Regions from separate parts of the Homo sapiens genome. Here region 1 is linked to region 2. Evidence: promoter capture Hi-C in 16 types of primary human blood cells and fetal thymus (Javierre and others, 2016). All regions are on one chromosome and are shown on one strand. The core of a region is centred on a gene start or on the middle of the fragment in contact, and the rest is flanking DNA. Distances in the headings are between cores, read along the strand shown.

Region 1 (5,544 bases), core at 1,948-4,447, 280 kb after region 2:
CACTGTGGGTTATGATTCATTAGTGGCATGTGAAATCAACCATGTAGGTAGCAACCTTTTTTTCATGTAAGAATTTAAAGGATACAAGTATAAAGTTAAAGAACTTAAGGAAAAATTTTGCTAGATTCATTTTGAATTAGAGCTGTCACGTATTTCTTAGCTATCTGCATGGAAAACACCTAGAAGCAATGACAGTCCAATAGCAGTGGAGCACACCTAGGACTTTATTGTAGTCTGAATTGTATGTCAAGTAGTGTGGTTACAGTAAGTGAGGGGATGTAGCTTTTTGCCACAAAATCTGTACTTTGGAAGGTGAATGTGAAGCAATGAGAACAAATGGAGATTATTAATCTGTGCTGTGGTTGGCGTTCAGAATTAGGCCACATTTTAGTATGTTTCATGTGGGGATCATTATTTTTTTTTGGACCAGCTTTTTTTTTTTTTTTTTTTTTTTTTTTTTGAGATGGAGTCTTGCTCTGTTGCCCAGGCTAGAGTGGAGTGCAGTGGTGCGATCTCGGTTCACTGCAAACTCCGCCTCCCGGGTTCACGCCATTCTCCTGTCTCAGCCTCCCGAGTAGCTGGGACTACAGGCGCCCACCACCGTGCCCGGCTAATTTTTTGTATTTTTAGTAGAGACGGGGTTTCACCGTGTTAGCCAGGATGGTCTCCATCTCCTGACCTCGTCATCCGCCCGCCTCGGCCTCCCAAAGTGCTGGGATTACAGGCATGAGCCACCGTGCCTGGCCTTTTCTTTAGAGTTTCTGATGAATTGCTTTTCTTTTTTCTTTCAAAAGAAACATTAAATTTTAAAAAATTTCAGTAGCTTTTGGGGTACAAGTGGTTTTTGGTTACATGGGTGAATTGTATAGTGATGAAGTCTGGCTTTTATTTTATTTTTTGAGACGGAGTCTCATTCTGTTGGCCAGGCTGGAGTGCAGTGGTGCGATCTCGGCTCACTGCAACCTCTGCCTCCCGACCTCAAGCGATTCTCCTACCTCAGCCTCTCGAGTAGCTGGGATTACAGGTGCCCACCACCACGCCTGGCTAATTTTTATATTTTTAGTAGAGACGGGGTTTCACCATGTTGACCAGGTTGGTCTCGAACTCCTGAGCTCAAGTGATCCACCAGCCTCGGCCTCCCAAAGTGCTGGGATTACAGGCATGAGCCACCTCACCCTGCAAGTCTGGGCTTTTAGTGTACCCATCACCCAAAAAGCGTACATTGTATCCAGTAGGTAATTTTTCATCTCTCACCTCCCTCCCACTTTCTCCCTTTCTAAGTCTCCAGTGTCCATTATATCACTCTGTGTGCCTTTGTGTAGCCATAGTTTAGCTCCCACTTATAAGTGAGAGAACCATGCCCGGCCCAGACTTCTTTTTTTAAATGTTCTAATAAAACTTTATTTACGGCTGGGTGCAGTGGCTCACACCTGTAATCCCAGCACTTTGGGAGGCTGAGGAGGGTGGATCACCTGAGGTCAGGAGTTCGAGACCAGCCTGGCCAACATGGCGAAGCCCCATCTCTACTAAAAATACAAAAATTAGCCGGGTGTGGTGTTGCGCGTCTGTAATCCCAGTTACTTGGAAGCCTGAGGCGGGAGAATCGCTTGAACTTGGGAGGTGGAGGTTGCAGTGAGCTGAGATCGTGCCACTGGACTCCAGCCTGGATGACAGAGTGAGACTCCGTCTCAAAAAACAAAACTAACAAAAACAACAACAAAACACAAGAAAACCCCACTTTATTTACAAAAACAGGTGGCTTGCCTGTGTGGTAGAGTTTACTCAGCCTTTTTCTAGAGAATGCCTTGTTATTGTGAATGAGATTCAGTTTTATTATGGTAGGCAGTGAGATTACTGGGAAATCTTTTTTTTTTTTTTTTTGTCGTGTGCATCTTTGTTTAGTCATTATTTTGATAGCTCTGTATCAGTTTTTTTTTTTTTTTTTTTTTTTTTTTTTTTTTTTTTTATGAGACAGAGTTTTGCTCTTGTTGCCCAGGCTGGAGTGCAATGGCACAATCTTGGCTCACTGCAACCTCTGCCTCCCAGGTTCAAGTGATCCTCCTGCCTCAGTCTCCGTAGTAGCTGGGGTTACAGACATGTGCCACCACGCCCTGCTAATTTTGTATTTTTAGTAGAGTTGGGGGTTTCTCCATGCTGGTCAGGCTGGTCTCGAATTCCCGACATCAGGTGATCCTCCTGCCTTGGCCTCCCAAAGTGCTGGGATTACAGGCATGAGCCACCGCACCCGGCCTCTGTATCAGTTTTGAATTTAGTTCTGGGTGTTTTCCTTACACCTAAAGTGTGGACTTTTTGGATTTCTACTGAGTAGCCAGTTCAGCAAAGTCTCTTCAGCTGATTATAATGTTCAGGAAAGACTCTTCAGCTGATAATAACTTCTGGCATCACCATTCAGCAGTCAGTCAAACATTAAATGATTACCTGTAGGCATTGTGGAGTTTCATCTCTGCATGTCCAGGCCAGCCCTTAGTCAAGGCCCAAGAAACATGTTTTTATCGTCAAGAACTTCTAGGCTCTTAGTTTACATAATGGAATCTTACAGATTTTCCTTTGTTTGCTTGCTGAACACTGTCATTGTCACCCTGGGATTTCTTTTCTCTGCTTCCTGGGTTGGTTCCACTGTTTCTTGGAGTCCACATCTTTTTCTCTCTTGGATGATCCTCGTTTTGCTGGGAGTAGATCCTCTAGTATGTTTTTCAAAAGGGGGTTTTTAGAGTGTAAAGATCCCAAGGCACTGCAGGTGTGAAAATAACTATTTTGCACCTTGATTGACAGTTTGGTTTTAAATTAACTTCCAGATTTAAATTAATTTCCACACAGAATTTTAAAGGGATTACCATATTCCCATTTATCAGGATACATCTGATGCTGATCTGAGTCTTACTGCTTTTACAGGTACTTTTTTTTGCATTTTCTTATTGGAAACCTAAGATTCTCTTGAAATTCTGCAGTTTTGTGAAGATGAGTCTAAATGTTGAGGGTTTGTCTCTTACATTCAGCCTACTTGTTACTGTGCTTTTTCTGTCCATAAAATTGAGTTCATCGTTGTTGTCTTCTGATATTTGTGTCCCTCTTTGATTCTGCCTGCTCTTATTCTCCTCTTAGGAAACTGTTAGACTCGATGGACCCAGCTTCTGTGGCCTTTAATTTTTCTCATGTTAAACTTTTTACCTTTTCACTTTATGTTCTAAGACAGGGTTGGCAAACTTCATGTAAAGGACCAGACAGTAAATATTTCAGGCTGTGTGGGCCAGGGGGCAAAATTGAGGCCATTAAGTAGGTACTTATATAAGAGAGAAAGCAAATTTTCGTAAATTTTTTTATTGATGAAATTCAAGGTATAATAATTGAGTACAATTTTTTGTAATATGGTTCTACTACTGAGAATGGAATTCTTTTTGGGGGCTAACATTTTGCTTAATCAGGGTTCAAAGTTGGTGATTCCCTTTATCGAATTGGTGGCAAATGTTCATCTGTAAAACATTTGCAGCTGTGGCCATCAGCAGCAGGCAGGCATTGGCCAACCCCGCAGTTCTCCTTCACATCATTCTTTGGGCTCTCCGCTATGTCCTTGTTATTATTCTACGAATTTTTTATTTTGGCAGTCATATTTGTAATTTCTAAGATATATTTCTTGTTCTCTGTTCTCTCTTTTTCTTTTTTTTTTTTTTTTGAGATGGAGTTTCACTCTTGTTGCCCAGGCTGGAGTGCAATGGCGTGATCTCACCTCACCGCAACCTCCGCCTCCTGGGTTCAAGTGATTCTCGTGCTTCAGCCTCCCGAATAGCTGGGATTAACAGGCATGCGCCATCACGCCCAGCTAATTTTGTGTTTTTGGTAGAGACGGGGTTTCTCCATATTGGTCAGTCTGGTCTCAAACTTCTAACCTCAGGTGATCTGCCCACCTCAGCCTTCCAAAACGCTGGGATTACAGGCGGGAGCCACTGCACCCGGCCGTTTTCTCTTTTTCATAGCTATCTAGTCTTATTTTATGGATGCAGTTCTTCTCAAGTGTCTCTAAGTATACTAGCTAGAATGTAGGTTCCTGTGCCTGTCTCTTCCCATTTGTTCTTTGGCTTTTCTCTCTCATGCTGACCGTGGGGATCACTGTGTTTGTGAGGGAAGGTTGGGGTTGACTAGTGTTCAGAGCATGTGGGTTTTCTTTTTAGTCATGTCTATTTCCCTGGAATCCTTCCCCTCCCTGCAGTAGCCAAAATAGAGGTGAGGCTGCTCAGCTGAGTGGCACCTCTTTCTGTATCTCCCTCCTGGTTTGCCTTTTTCCCTTTGAGCCTACCTGAAGGTCAGGGTCAGCTGGTTCTGCCCTGTATAGGCAACTTTTAGGAAGGAGCAATCTGAAATTGTGACTCTACTCTGGTTTTTAAAGACAGAAAGTGACAGTCCAGTTAATACCGGATATTGACTCAAATCTAGTTCTGATGCTGCTTTTCCAACTTTATGACAGTTTCTACATCTGTGGTATATGGAATAATAATTGAAGCACTAAATTTTATTCTGAAGCAATCAGTCTTTTTGGAATCAGGAAATATTAAACTTTATTTGTTACAGGTTAATGAAATAGAATTGTATGAAAGTACCATTTTTATAGCCAAAACACTGTTGAAAATCAGCACTTTGATTTGGTTCAACCTAATATTTAAAAAATTATATTGTAATTGTTATGTTTATTTATTGATCTGTGAATATAGTCACTCTAACCAGATTTTTTTTTTTTTTTTTTTTTTTGAGATGGAGTCTCACTCTGTTACCCAGGCTGGAGTGCAATGGTGCTATCTTTTCTTACTGGAACCTCTGCCTCCCAGGTTCAAGCGATTCTCCTGCCTCAGCCTCCCAAGTAGCTGGGATAACAGGTGCCCATCACCACGCCCGGCTAATTTTTCTACTTTCAGTAGAGACGGGGTTTCACCGTGTTGGCCAGGCTGGTGTCGAACTTCTTACCTCAGGTGATCCACCTGCCTCAGCCTTCTAAAGTGCTGGGATTACAGACATGAGCCACCGCACCCAGCCAACCAGAATATTTAATTAAGTAGCCCTCCCTATTTGCAAGCCATTCTGGAATTATCAGAGTTCTAAGAGCCTTCACCAGCAACAGATCCAACTTCTGCTTTTCTAGATTAGGAAATTTGCCTTGAAGAAGTGAGCTTGGCCAGAGGCACGCTGTTTAATTTCAAAGTGCTGCTGACTCAAACTCATGAGTCCTGGAGGCAGGTAGAGGCACTTGTAGGCTGAGGACCCGTAGAGCCCGGTGTGCCCTGCCCAAGCCCCACCTGGGAATGGAGTTATCTCTGTAAAGATCTTGCTGCCTTTGAGCAAGCACTGCAAATGGGGTAACTGGAACAGCCTTGTCGCGTGTTTCCACCCTTCGTATGAGGCAGGTACCATGGGTCTTCACCAACAGCACGGCCTGTTGTCTCCAGGAAATGGTAGCCCCTCACAGTGCTTTCTGTCTGCTTGTTTAGCTTTGGCATTTGAATGTGCAGAATGGTGGACTTTGAAATTAATGTCCTT
Region 2 (6,125 bases), core at 1,165-3,664:
GTTGGCCAGGCTGGTCTCGAACTCCTGATCTCAGGTGATCCACCCATCTTGGCCTCCAAAAGTGCTAGGATTACAGGCGTGAGCCACTGTGCCCGGCCTCAAGGAAGACTTTCTTAACAATTCATCATATAGTAGAAAATGAAAACATTCCCTAGAAAGGAGTGGACACCAGGTGGCCTTTCCCAGGGGAGCAGGGCAGGAATTATTGAAGCAGTTAGGAGGTGAGAGAGATGCCTGCCCTGGGGGCACCTGGGATGCTTGGCGTGGCCACTTCCAGCATCCTCCACAAACCTGCCTGCAACTCCCCCATACATGCAGCCTCTTCCGAGACAGAGGAATGGTCAGGGTCCCCTGGTGCCTGCCTCCCCCTTCATTTGGGTCTCTTCTTCAGGGCCAGCTCCACAGAGAATCCGTCCCTCATACCTCATCACTCCCTCCCCATTCTCTGGCCCTGATTTAGTTTTCTTCCTAACACTCTTTCTGACAGACACACTGTTACCTGTTAACTCATTTCCTTCTGTTTGTCCCCTCTAACATGCTTGCTGTATGGATGGAGGGGCCTTATTCTCCTGGTTCCTGGGGACAGACCAGTGTTCACAGACCCCAGACCAGGGACTGTTGTACAGCAGGCCTGCCATATTTGTTCAATGAACGAATGATTCCCAAAAGAAATAGAGCACAGAGTTCAGAGGCGGCCTTCAGGGAAGAAATTTCAACAATGTCAAAAATTAATTGTGGAGTATCCATTGATAGATGAATGGATAACTTAAATGTGGAATATGCATACAATGGAATATTATTCAGCCATAAGAAAGAAGGGGCTGGGCGCCGTGGCTCACGCCTGTAATCCCAACACTTTGGGAGGCCCAGGCAGGCGGATCACGAGGTCAGGAGATCGATTCCATCCTGGCCAACATGATGAACCCCGTCTCTACTAAAACACACACACAAAAAAATTAGCCAGGCGTGGTGGCGTGCCCCTGTAGTCTCAGCTACTCAGGAGGCTGAGGCAGGGGAATCGCTTGAACCTGGGAGGTGGAGGTTGCAGTGAGCCGAGATTGCACCACTGCACTCCAGCCTGGCGACAGAGTGAGACTCCGTCAAAAAAAAGAAGGGAAGGGAAGGGGAGGGAAGAAGGAAGGAAAGAAGGAAGGAAAGAAAGAAAGAAAGAAAGAGAGAGAGAAAGGAAAGAAAGAAAGAAAGAAAGAAAGAAAGAAAGAAAGAAAGAAAGAAAGAAATTCTGACACATGCCACAACATGGATGGAAGTGAGGACACTGTGCTAACTAAAGTAAGACTGTCACAAAAAGACATATAATGTATGATTCCACTTATACGATGTCCTTAGAGTAGTCTAATTTAGAGACGAATAGTGAATGCCAAAGGCTAGGAGGAGGAAAGAATGGGGAGCTAGTGTTTACTGGGTATGGAGTTTCCATTTGAGAAGATGAAAAAGTCCTGGAGACGGTTGGTGGTTGCACAAGAATGTGAATGTACTTGGTGCCACAGAACTACACTTGGAAACAGTTAAGATGGTAAGTTTTACGTTATGTGTATTTTACCACAATTAAGAAAAATTAATTATGGGTAGTTGAGAGAATGTGGTCTTCCTCAACTTACGGTAGGAAAAGTCAAGAATAACTTAAAGGCTGATAATAGCATTTCAAAGATCGAAACTGATCAGAGAGGCTATTCCATCAGGCTAGACTAGCTCAATAGTGACTTTTTCCAGAAGGAGAACCACTGGGAAGAGAGAACTGAGCAGTGAGGACAGCGAACTTGTTAAGTTTAGTTTTCTGCTTTAACGAGGGGCTTCCGGAGTCCTTTAATAAGATCCCCTCCCAAAAGTGGCACCCTGGGTCTCTCTGTCTCCCAGTCGTGTCCCCGCCCGCCGGGCCAGAGCAATGGACTCCCAGGAAGCAGGGGGGGCGCGGGCGGGGCGCGGGCGGGGCGGGTGGGGGAAGGGCAAGGACTCACTCTTCCTTTCCTCCTCCGCCGGGGCCCGCCCCGAGCCCTGGCCCCACCCCGGCTCTCTGGATCCGCCTCCTCCTCCCGACCCCGCCCCGGCACCTTGGCCCCGCCTTCCACTCGGCCCCGCCCCGGCGTCCTGGCCCCGCCTCCGCCGCCCGGCCCCGCCCCGCTCCCGGCGGACTGCGAGCAGGAAGAGCGCAGTGGCTCTGCCGACGCCGCGTTCAGAAAGGTGTGGAGGGGGCTGGGGGCGCAGGTCGCGATCAGGCTGCGTCTCCTGCCCGCCCAGCCACCTGCGGCCCTGGCCCCACCCTGCCGCTTTGGGCCGCTCGGGCTCGCGGCCGCCCCCGCCCCGAGCGCCGGCTCGGGGCTCTGCTGCTCTGGCCTGGGAGGCGGGGCCGGCTGCGCGGCGTCATGCATATGCATGAGCGGCGCGGCGGCGGCTCCATTGTGCCCTCGGAGCGGGCGGCGGCGCGATGGCGCGGGTGGCGGCGGCCCCGGGGCGGCGGGCGGCGCGGAGGGCGGGCTGAGCGCATGGAGCGGCGCGGGCCGGGGGCCGCCACGGCGAGGGGCCGGGCCAGGCCGGGCGGAGGTGAGCGGGGTCCTGGGGGTGGCCCCTGGCAACGCCGCCAGCAGGCAGGTGTGGGCCGGCGGGGGCAGGCAGGTGCGGCAGGTGCGGGCCGGCAGGTGCGGGCGGGCAGGCAGGTGTAGCTGGTCGCCCGGGGCGCCCCGGTTCCGCTGCGGCGCCACGGTAGGGTTCACAGCTGGGCTGGGGCTAGAGGCTCTGCCGCCCACCTGCCGGCACCTGCCACGCGTGCGTCGTGGTCTTGGGCAGGCTCGGCCCCGTGGGCGTCAGGGTCATCCAGCCCTCCCCTGAGTCTTTGTTGGAGGCTGGCCGAGGGGTGTAAGCGGCGCTCGGGGTTCTCCTGAGCGATGAAGGCTGGCCGGGCCTTCGCTCCAACCTGATCGTTCCTAGCTTTGGGGCCAGGCAGTCTCACCTACATGGTACGCCCCTCCGCTCCTACTTACGTGCCCACCAGCACGGCGATGTGGGGGCCGTCTGAGGCCGTCACCTGCTCGCGGAGGAGCTGTTCCGCTCCTGGGCTGAACGACGCTGAGCGGCCAGCCCCCAGCTGCCAGTTTTGATGGGGACACCCCTTTCCAAACTGGACATACTGAAGCTCAGGCGTGAGGATGCCCTGCTCCCCTGAGGTGCCTTGTCTTCCCTAGTGCCAGGTGTCCTTCACCGCGGCACCCCCACCCGGTGCCTTGTTTACCCCTCCACCTACCGTGTCTCTCCTCCCATTCCCTGGACCCTCTGCCCTGCAGTGTTCTGCCTCTCCTTCTCCCTAGGGTACCCTCTTTCCAGTATTACAGAACATCCATGGTGGTGTCTTTAATTTGTGTCATCGCAGATTTCACAGGGACACACACGGAACATGTGACTTGGTCTGAGACCGTGGTGATTACGGATAGGATGGACACAGACTCACCACCAAGTTCTGGCAAGCTAGAACCAGAGGGCATCCCTTGATGCTTAGTGTGGAAACAGGAGAAGTGAAGGAATCTTAACTTCCAGAGGTACTGACCTCTAGCCCTTGTCATGCCCAGGGGATAGTTACAAGCTGGAAGTGTAAATGAAGAGAACAAGCAGGTGACAGTTGCCGGTTGTAGATTTCTGAAGGACAGGCCTAAGATGTTTGGGGAGCATCCTGATTATTGGGATTGAGCTCCCAAGGGCTGATGACATGAAGGTGGTCATGTGTCCTCAGTCCTAGGATGCTACCAGATATCCATCTTACACATTGTAAACTGATGCCAGGTTAAGGTTGTCCCTTCAGCTGTTCACTGAAATGTCTCATGCCTGGGCCATTGCTTATTCCTGGACTTTTTGATGAACTCTGCATCCTGACTTAGCCCCACGCTTAGACATTTTAGTACTGTGGCCTTACAGGTAGAGGGGGCAGGACTTTCAGCTACCTGTATATGTGAGTACCCCACTTTTTGCTACCAAGGACCCCGCTCCTGCAACATTCCACAGCCATCATTTCTTCAATACCCTTTGACTCCATTGTCACCTGGGTTGGATCCTGACCCTGCAATCTTGGAGACAGTGAGTCCTGATGTGTGACCTATTGAGAAGCGTTGCCTGCCACAGGGCCCACTTGCTGGTCCTGCTCCTAGCTGACTAGGCAGGCAGAGAGGTGGCATGGAACAAGGCTCAGGAGGTCAACCAGGAGACTTGGGGGTGCAGCTACTCTGGGACATTTGGGGAAGAGAGGTCTGGGGTAGTGAGTTCTGTAACTCTGTCTAGAGGAAGATGTGATCTGACCCCCGAGAAAGCCTTGTGGCCCTCTAGACTGACCTTGTCCATCTCTCAAGGGGTCCTAGCTTCCAGCTGGAGTTAGTTTACAAGGAAAGCGCCAGGCACTAAGACCCTTGGTGGGCATGGGCCTTGCATGATCTGGGATCCAGATTCCAGGCTCCAGGCTTGTTCCCAACCCAGACTCAAAGCCAGGAGATGAGAAGAGGATCTGCACACACACAACGCAGAACACTATCCTATCATCAGGGGCACAGGGTCAAGGATACCAGACCTGGAGACTGGAAGTCTTTTCAGAGAGACTGTCCTCAGAGAGGAGACCAGAGGCATGAGTTCGGGTCGGCAGGAAATCCCCCTGTGCAGTGAAGAGTAAGCTCAGAGGGAACTGGAAATCTTTGTGGTCTCTGTCCACAGCAGAGAACCATCAGGGGTGGAATTCCCCAGGCTCATGTGACATAGGAGCCTGCTGTGGGCTCCTCCCCTCCTTGTACCTGCCCTGTGCTCCTTCTCCCCAGCTCACTGCATTTCCTAGATCTGAGGTTCTCAAACTACAGTTCCTGGACCAGCAGCAGCAGTAGCTGCAAACTTGTTAGAAATTCTGGGCTTAGGCCCCAGCCCATCCTACTGACTTCAGGTGGGGCTGGGCAGCCTGTCATCACCAGCTGCGAGCTGGTTTTGATGTGCTGCAGTTGGGGAGCTGCTGCCCTAGGTGACCTAAAATGAGGCAGTGCTGCACAGAGTGCTGCCTGCACTTTGAGGCCTTTGACCACGGGCGGGGGAGGGGGCACATCTGCTTGCCTGCCAGATTCCCTCTCTGTTCTTGGGACAGCAAAGTGGCCAGCCAACCCAACCAGCTTTCTAGTGGGGAAAGATTGTCACAGCAGTTCTGCGGAGACAGAAGGCTGGTGGTAGCAGTTGTATTGTAATTAAACTTTTTATTTTGAAATTATTGGCTGGACACAGTGGTGCTCACCTCTAATCCCAGCACTTTGGGAGGCCGAGGTGGGTGGATCACTTGAGGTCAAGAGTTCAAGACCAGCCTGGCCAACATGGCGAAACTTCATCTCCACTAAAAATACAAAAATTAGCCAGGCATGGACTATGGTGGTGTACACCTGTAGTCCAGTTACTCAGGAGGCTGAGGCAGGAGAATCGCTTGAACCTGGGAGGTGGAGGTTGCAGTGAGCCTAGATCGTGCCACTGCACTCCAGCCTCGGTGAAAGAGCAAGATTCCATCTCAAAAAGAAAAAAAAAAAATTAAAGATTCATGTGCATTATAAGAAATGACACAGAGAGATTTATTCTGTCCTTTACCCAGTTTGCCCCAATGGTAACATCTTGGAAAACTAGTACAACATTGCACCAGGACACTACACTGATACAGTAAAGAGGTTACAGCCTGTTGCCTTCTATTTTTTTTTTTTGAGATGGAGTTTCACTCTTGCTGCCCAGGCTGGAGTGCAATGGTGCGATCGGCTCACTGCAACCTCCACCTCCTGGGTTCAAATGATTCTCCTGCCTCAGCCTCCTGAGTAGCTGGGATTACAGGCGCCCACCACTACGCCCGGTTAGTTTTTGCCCAGCTAATTCTTATGTTTTTAGTAGAGTTGGGGTTTCACCATGTTGGCCAGGCTGGTCTCGAACTCCTGACCTCAAATGATCTGCCCACTTCAGCCTCCCAAAGTGCTGGGATTACAGGCGTGAGCCACCGTGCCCAGCCTGTTGCCTTCTTATATTCACGCCCACCTTCCTCCTGCCAAAATTACAGAAATGGAGAAGAGATTAGTACCTTTCTCTTTACCCCCACATTTAACCCCTGGCAATCACCAATCTGT

Evidence for each region. Contacts are between HindIII fragments. The CHiCAGO score rates a contact against its expected background, and 5 or more counts as called.
Region 1: a fragment that was not itself captured here is called in contact with the fragment with the promoter of ZMIZ2 in region 2 in 1 of 17 cell types (monocytes); the score reaches 5.3 in monocytes.

What each region holds. Positions count from the first base shown.
Region 1 is chr7:45,021,860-45,027,403 of GRCh38, forward strand. The region is part of intron 1 of CCM2 (CCM2 scaffold protein); the gene reads left to right. Among named protein-coding and RNA genes, the nearest start is that of CCM2, 24 kb to the left of the region's middle. RefSeq lists a silencer at 5,238-5,307. The HindIII fragment of the contact is 9,674 bases long and covers 1-5,544 here.
Region 2 is chr7:44,746,433-44,752,557 of GRCh38, forward strand. ZMIZ2 (zinc finger MIZ-type containing 2) reads left to right here and starts at 2,415. Exons shown (of 19, transcript NM_031449.4): 1 at 2,415-2,559. RefSeq lists silencers at 1,910-2,439, 2,550-2,659, 2,670-2,719 and an enhancer at 4,500-4,969. The HindIII fragment of the contact is 22,932 bases long and covers 1-6,125 here.